2 separate regions of the Homo sapiens genome follow, and region 1 is linked to region 2. Evidence: promoter capture Hi-C in human tissues and cell types (Jung and others, 2019). All regions are on one chromosome and are shown on one strand. Each heading gives the region's core, a stretch centred on a gene start or on the middle of the fragment in contact. The rest is flanking DNA. Distances are from core to core; before and after follow the strand shown.

What was found. The method cuts DNA at HindIII sites, captures the fragments that hold promoters and counts their contacts. A contact is called where the count stands out against the background at its distance.
Region 1: a contact is called between a fragment that was not itself captured here and the fragment with the promoter of P2RX5 in region 2, in 1 of the 25 tissues and cell types used here (dorsolateral prefrontal cortex).

What each region holds. Positions count from the first base shown.
Region 1 is chr17:2,912,245-2,916,130 of GRCh38, reverse strand. All of the region lies in intron 3 of RAP1GAP2 (RAP1 GTPase activating protein 2), which reads right to left. Among named protein-coding and RNA genes, the nearest start is that of RAP1GAP2-AS1, 52 kb to the left of the region's middle. RefSeq lists enhancers at 349-1,102, 3,603-3,886. The HindIII fragment of the contact is 3,290 bases long and covers 685-3,886 here.
Region 2 is chr17:3,694,120-3,698,037 of GRCh38, reverse strand. It overlaps P2RX5 (purinergic receptor P2X 5), which reads left to right and starts at 1,883. Exons shown (of 12, transcript NM_002561.4): 1 at 1,883-2,169. The coding sequence starts at 2,033. It overlaps P2RX5-TAX1BP3 (P2RX5-TAX1BP3 readthrough (NMD candidate)), which reads left to right and starts at 1,634. Exons shown (of 15, transcript NR_037928.1): 1 at 1,634-2,169. RefSeq lists a silencer at 1,654-2,013 and enhancers at 2,134-2,183, 2,296-2,812, 3,783-3,832. The HindIII fragment of the contact is 15,075 bases long and covers 1-3,918 here.

The DNA.
Region 1 (3,886 bases), core at 1,080-3,579, 780 kb after region 2:
CTCAACATACAGTACTGGAACAACAGAGTATCCATATGGCAATAAATGAACCTAGACCCCAACATACTGCCATACATAATTAAATTAAAACAAGTTTATCCTAGACCTAGAGCTAAAACAATAAAGCTTCTAGCCGGGCGCAGTGGCTCATGCCTGTAATCCCAGCACTTTGGGAGAGGCTGAGGCGGGCGGATCACGAGATCAGGAGACTGAGACCATCCTGGCCAACGTGGTGAAACCCCGTTTCTAGTAAAAATACAAAAAAATCAGCCAGGTGTGGTGGCAGGCACCTGTAGTTCCAGCTATTCGAAAAGCTGAGGCAGGAGAATCGCTTGAACTCAGGAAGCAGAGGTTGCAGTGAGCCGAGATCACGCCACTGCACTCCAGCCTGGTGACAGAGCGAGACTCTGTCTCAAAAAAAATAAATAAAAATAAAGCTTCTAAAAGAATACATGGAAGGAAATCTTTGTGAGCTGGGGTAAGCAAAGACTTCTTAGGACACACAAAGCTACAGACATAAAAGGAAAGAGTCCATAATTAGACTTCTTCAAAATTAAAACTTCTGCTCATTAAAGACACCGTTAAGAAAAGAAATGGGCCAGGCGCGTTGGCTCACGCCTGTAATACCAGCACTTTGGAAAGCCAAGGTGGGCGGATCGCTTGAGCTCAGGAGTTCAAGACCAGCCTGGGCAACAGGGTGAAACCCTGTCTCTCCCTACAAAAAATTCAAAAATTAGTCAGGCGTGGTGGCACCAGCCTGTAGTCCCAGCTACTCGGGGGGCTGAGGTGGAAGGATGGCTTGAGCCCAGGAGGTTGAGGCTGCAGTGAGCTCTGTTCGCACCACTGCACTCCAGCCTGGGCAACAAAGTGAGACCTTGTATCCAAAAAATAAAAACAAGAAAAGAAATGGGCCAGAAATGGTGGCTCAAGCTTGTAATCCCAACAATTTGGGAGCCCAGGCAGGAGGATCACTTGAGGCCAGAGTTTGAGACCAACCCGGGCGACATAGTGAGTCCCCATCTCTATTTCTAAAAAGAAGAAGGCCGGACGCAGTGGCTCACGTCTGTAATCCCAGCACTTTGGGAGGCCGAGGCGGGCGGATCACGAGGTCAGGAGTTCAAGACCAGCCTGGCCAACATGGTGAAACCTTGTCTTTACTGAGAATAAAACAATTAGCTGGGCGTGGTGGCGGGCACCTGTAATCCCAGCTACTCGGGGGACTGAGGCAGGAGAATCGTTTGAACCCAGGAGGTGGAGGTTGTAGTGAGCCGAGATGGCGCCATTGCACTCTAGCCTGGGTGACAGAGCAAGGCTCCGTCTCAAAAAAAAAAAAAAAGAAGTGGCCGGGCACAGTGGCTCGCACCTGTAATCCCAGCACTTTGGGAGGCCGAGGTGGGTGGATCACAAGGTCAGGAGATTGAGACCATCCTGGCTAACACGGTGAAACCCCGTCTCTACTAAAAATACAAAAAATTTGCCGGGCGTGGTGGCGGGCGCCTGTAGTCCCAGCTACTCGGGAGGCTGAGGCAGGAGAATGGTGTGAACCCAGGAGGCAGAGCTTGCAGTGAGCTGAGATCGGGCCACTGCACTCCAGCCTGGGCGACAGAGCGAGACTCTGCCTCAAAAACAGAAGAAGAAGAAAAGAAACGAACTTGACTAGAATATGTAAAGAACGCCTACAAGAAGACTACCGAATTTAAAGGAAGGAGGAAGGGAAAAAAGAACTATAAGAATAGTCAATAAGCATATGAAAAATATTCAACATCATTAGTCATGAGAAAATGTGGATTAAAACCACAATGAGATACCGTTCAAGTAGCTAAAATTGTCAAAACCAACAATGGCAAATGTTGATGAGGATGCAGAGCAGCGAGAACTCAAATGACACTGCTGGTGAGGATATAAGATGGCCTGACCATTTGGCAAACAGTGTAGCAGTTTCATATAAACAGTCACCGGCCAGGCATGGTGGCTCTCGCCTGTAATCCCAGCACTTTGGGAGGCCTGAGGAAGGCGGATCACTTGAGGTTGGGAGTTCGAGACCATCCTGGCCAACATGGTGAAACCCCGTCCCTATTAAAAATACAAAAAACTTAGCCGGGAGTGGTAGTGGGCACCTGTAATCCCAGCTACTGGGGAGGCTGAGGCAGGAGAATCCCTTGAACCCGGGAGGCGGAGGCTGCAGTGAGCAGAGATTGCGTCACTGCTCTCCAGCCTGGGCAACAGAGCGAGACTCCACCTCAAAAAAAAAAAATTAAGTTCTAGAACAGACAAAACTCACTTTTGAAAAAAATCAGAACACTGTTTGCTCCTCAAGGGGGCAGTTATGATTGACTGGGTCAGGACAATGGGAACTTTCTGGGGTTGCAGAAATGTCCTGTTTCTTGATCAAGGTATGGCTCACGTGGGTGTATCATTAGTCAAAGTATACAATACAATTAAGACTTACGCATTTCTGTGTCTGCAAATTTTTAAAAATCCAGTTACACCTAGAGTAATCTTCCAGAAGCATAAGCAAGTTGGCCTTAAAACATGAACAGAAGGCCGAGTGTGGTGGCTCACGCCTGTAATCCCAGTACTTTGGGAGGCTGAGGCCGGCGGATCACCTGAGGTCAGGAGTTTGAGAGCAGCCTGACCAACATGGTGAAACCCCATCTCTACTAAAAATACAAAAATTAGCTGGGCATGGTGGCGTGTGCCTGTAATCCCAGCTACTCGGGAGGCTGAGGGAGGAGAATCGCTTGAACCCAGGAAGCAGGGGTTGCAGTGAGCTGAGATTACGCCACTGCACTCCAACCTGGGTGACAAGAGCGAGATTCCATCTCAAAAAAAAAAGAGAACAGAATTAGGGAAAATAGGCACATGCTCAGGTGTGCACAGGTGAGGAGGGAAATGCATGCAGGTAAGTAGGTGCACATGCAGACATCTTCATGTTTTCTTTTTCTTTTTTTTTGAAACAGGATTTTGCTCTGTCACCCAGGCTAGAGTGCAGTGGTGCAATCATAACTCACTGCAAGCTCAATCTCCTGGGCTCAATCCATCTTCCCACCTTGGCCTCCAGAGTAGCTGGGACTATAGGCATGAGCCAATAGGCCCAGCTAATTTTTTAATTTTTTGTAGAAATGGGGTCTCACTGTGTTGCCCAGGCTGGTCTCAAACTCCTGGCCTCAAGGGATCCTCCTGCCTCAGCCTCCCAAAATGCTGGGATTTCAGGCATGTGCCACCATGCCCAGCCAACATCTCCATGTTCTTAAAGCCTCCTAGTTAGCATCCTCACCCTCAGTAGCCAAATAAGCCCTTCCTCATGCCTGCATTAAATCAGATGTGAACTTCCTTGGCTCCTGGATGGAGTCAAGAGAACAATGGGCAGTGGCTCCTGAGGAGATGGGGTTGTATCCCAACCATGTCCGGAGCGGCAACAGAAACACAATCGATGTGGAGACCAGAGGTGACTCTCCCAGGACCCACAGAGCTTCAGCAAGGGCCTCCCTCCAGCAGTAGGGATGGAGGGAATATATATCTGTCCTCTCCTGTCCCTACACAGGGTTTTCTTGAAGAGGGAAAAACCAAACCTCCTTGCTGATGTCCTTCAGCCCTTCCTGCCCCAGCCCAGAAAGGCTCCCGTCAACCCTCCCACAAATGCCTCCTCCCTTCATCCATCCAGAGCTGGTGGATGTATGGGGGGCTGACACTGTCACTCCACCCTGATGAGGGGCAAGTCTCCCTGCACAGCCTAACAGAAGACAGGAGGCAGGAACCAGGAGCAAAAGAAGAGACGAAATCAGGCCGGGGGCTGTGCTACAAGCTGGAACAGAAGCCCCCACACACCACCCCCCAACCCCAGGGAGAGAGGGTGGCCGGTGGGTAATCCATGAGCCAGAAAGGG
Region 2 (3,918 bases), core at 634-3,133:
CCAGGTTTGTCCACTCATTCAATAATATGTCTAGAACTATTATGTGGCAGGCACAGGGACATACAGAGATGTCCAAAGGCATGGTCCCTGCTCTCCGGGAGCTTCTGGTCTTAGCATGGGACACAGTCACTAAGTCAACGAGATCCTACTGGATAGTGACAGGTGCTCTAAGGGAATAAGATGAGATAATGGGATAGAAAGTGGCTGGGCTGGGACTGGGGGCTACTTTGGGTGGGCAATAATAACAGGCCTTTTTGAAGAAATGGCAGTTGAGTTGAAATGGATGAAAAGATGCAAAGATCCACGCTTTCCCAAATGACAGTTTGAGAGCAAAATACAGGTTCCCAGCCCCATCTTAGATTTCGTGAATGAAAATTTGAGGGGCAGGGCCTAGGAATTTGCCTTTTTTTCTTCCACATGATTCCCATGCACTTTGAAACTGGACACCTTCCTTGGGGCTTTTACTTTAGAATCACACTGATGAATTTCAGGGTACCTTCCAGTTCCCCGAGTCTGTGGCTTAGGGAAGGGAGCCTCTTTGTGTGTGAAAGCCAGGGGTAGGGAGAGGAGCAGGACTGCTTGTGGTCAGACTGCAGGATGCAGAAAATAAGCGTGCGCAGCTCCTCACCACACCGCGCTCACCCAGGGCCCTGCGTCTTTGGCTGTCAGGAGTTCTAAACCTGCCCCCCCGGAGGCCCTCCCTCATCCCACTCCCACTCCTGTTGAATTCCACATACTGAGAGGGTTGCAGTCATAGCTGCATGGATCAGTTCTATTTCTTGTGCGTTGGGAACCATTCCAAACAGTTGGTACATGCGCACTCTCCAGGCATATTTTTAGGATCCTAGGGTGGGTTGCCTGTGTCTCCCCGCCCCCACCCCGTCTGCCCCCCACCCCCGCACCATCCGCCCTGAGTGTGGGAGGGAGGTCTTCATGCTGCCGGCACTCGGGACCTGCCTGACCACCGACTCCGCCGGAGTGTGGGCTTTTAAACCTGCAGCAGCTGCTGCAGTAGAAACGCGCATTAGTCGCAGCAGACACAGGCAGCCTCAGGTGGGACAAGTCTTGTCTCTTCCAGCCTGTGGGGGAGCCACGGCTTCCCCCCCACAACCACCCCCTGCCCACGGAGCAAGAATGTATCTCCCTGGCAGGAGACCTGGCGCGAGGTGAATGGAGAAACCTGTTGTGTCCCCTTCCTTCCTCCCCTGGCCTCAGTTCCCCATCTATTCAATAGGAAGAACCCTTTGGGATTTCTTTGCGAGAGAAAGGGGAGTTTTGCTTTAAACGGAGCTCTTCCCGGCCGTGCGCGGTGGCTCACGCCTGTAATCCCAGCACTTTGGGAGGCCGAGGTGGGCGGATCACCTGAGGTCAGGAGTTCAAGACCAGCCTGGCCAACATGGTGAAACCCCGTCTCTACTAAAAATACAAAAATTATCACGCCTGTAGTCCCAGCTACTTGGGAGGCTGAGGCAGGAGAATCGCTTGAACCCGGGAGGCGGAGGTAGCAGTGAGCTGAGATCGCACCACTGCACTCCAGCCTCGGCGACAGAGCGAGGCTCCGTCTCAAAAATAAATGAATAAATAAATTTAAAATAAAATAAAAAGGAGCCCTTCCCCCTTTCACTTCCTCTCCTCCGCGATCGCTGCTTTCAGCTGGGCAACAGCACAGGGCGGTCCTGCGCATCCGGGGGGCTGCGCTCCCAGACCGGTGGCTGGGGAGTAGGTTGCAGGGGTGTCACTGTGTCAGGGGAGGAGGAGGAGGAGGAGGAAGAAGAGGTAGCGGCAAGGTCGCGGTCTGAGGTTCCGGTGCTCGCCGCCGCCCAGCTCCCAGCCGAGGCTTTCTCAACCGCGTCAATAAAAGGCCGCCCCGACCCGCCCCCGCGCCCCGCAGCCCTGCCGGACACCCCGGGCTGCAGCTGAGCGGGCGCAGACGGGCCGAGGCGGGCGCCGGGCGCGCAGGGACCGAGGGACCGAGTGCTCCCCATGAGCGCACGTGGGCCGGGCGGTCCGCAAGCCCGGCTGAGAGCGCGCCATGGGGCAGGCGGGCTGCAAGGGGCTCTGCCTGTCGCTGTTCGACTACAAGACCGAGAAGTATGTCATCGCCAAGAACAAGAAGGTGGGCCTGCTGTACCGGCTGCTGCAGGCCTCCATCCTGGCGTACCTGGTCGTGTAAGTTCTCCGCGGACTTTTGGGAAGGCGGGGGAGGGGCAGGGCGGGTGCCAGCCGCCGCGTCCTTCTCCAGGGTCCTGGAATTCGCAGGCGTGCACGCGGTTTTCCCGGTAGCTGGGGGTCTGTGAGCCTGCTTGCTGTGGGGGTCCTCTTTGGGTCCTTGGGTGTAGGAGTAGGGTGTAGAGAGGGGGCTCTCCACTCCCCCACTGGCGCTAGAGGTGATGAGAGGTGGGCAGGGGCCTTCTGGTTTCCTCGATTTATCAGGCTTTCCCTGCAGCTGCTTCTCCCAGAGTCGGGTCCCCACGTGTTAGGGCCATGGGAAGGGGGCAGGGATGCCAGGGGGCTGGGTGGCAGCTGTCGCCCCAGGAGCCTCCCTGGGCCTTGGCCTGGCAGCTGACCCAGGCGCCGGCAGGTTATTTATAATCACAGGGTGTCACTGCCTACTCAGAGCTGGAGAAACTCATCAGCCCGGCATGTTCCTGAGCTCCCTTCCGGTCAACTTGCCCCACCCGCGGCCAGCCTCTCTGGTGTCCAGCTGGGGGTCCTGCCCAGAGGCCTCTATCTCTGCACCCAGCTCGGCCATCCCCTTCCCCCATCCTCATGCCACCTGGCAGGAGCTGGCGCCACAAAGCCAAAGAGGCAACTTGTGGAGGCTGCTCTGCCAGGCGCCTTCAGAGCCCTGACCCCGGGGTGGGTCGGGGGTGAGCAGGTGGAGGGGAGAAGCAGCGCTGGACAATGGGGATGCGCCTCATTCCACTCGTTCAGTAAATGCGGTGGAGTTCCTCCTGCTTCCTCCTGGGAGGGCAGCCCTGACGCCTGGCTCTCCCTCGGAGGTCCAGCAGTCCGCGTTCTCTGAGCTGCATCCCCAGGCCCCTGGCCGCCTCCCACCTGAGCGGCCTCGTAGGCGCTGTGCTGTTGCTCAGCCAGGCCTGCCCGTCCTCCTCCACTCCCTTAGCATCCACTCAGCCCCCAGATCTGGGCTTTCCAGTAACTCCCTCTCCCTTCCTCCCTGGCCTTCCCACAGTGTAATTATTGGGCTTATTTGGGGGATCATTTGCCTGATGTCGCTGTCAGTCCGGGAATGCCCTGAGGGTGGGGCCCCAGCAGCACTTAACTGCTTAGGGAATAGATGTGAAATGAACGCATGAATGAATAAATGGAGTTGCTTTTGCTTGAACAATAGAAATTTAATTCTCGCAGTCCTGGATGTGGAAATCTGAGACGAGGGTGGTAGCATGGTTCGGGGTCTCAGGGGGGGCTCTCTCCTTGGCTTGCAGATGGCCACCCTCTCGCTGTGTCCTCACATGGCAGGGAAAGCAGGACATATTTAACTAAGTACAAGTATGAAAATTAGGAAATTGGCGGCCGGGCGCTGTGGCTCATGCCTATAATCCCAGCCCTTTGGGAAGCCGAGGTGGGTGGATCACCTGAGGTCAGGAGTTCGAGACCAGCCTGGCCAACATGGAGAAACCCTGTTTCTACTAAAAATACACAACAATTAGCTGGGCATGATAGTGGCGCCTGTAATCCCAGCTAATCGGGAGGCTGAGGCAGGAGAATCTGTCTCTATGGATTTGCCTATTCTGGGTATTTCGTATAAATGAAATTGTATAGTATGCGGCCTTTTTTTTTTTTTTTCTGGCTTCTTTCACTTGGTGTCATGTTTTCAAGGTTCACCCATGTTGTGGCATCTATCAGCCCTCCATTCCTCTCTGTGGCTGATACTATCCTGCCGTGTGGGGCTGCCAC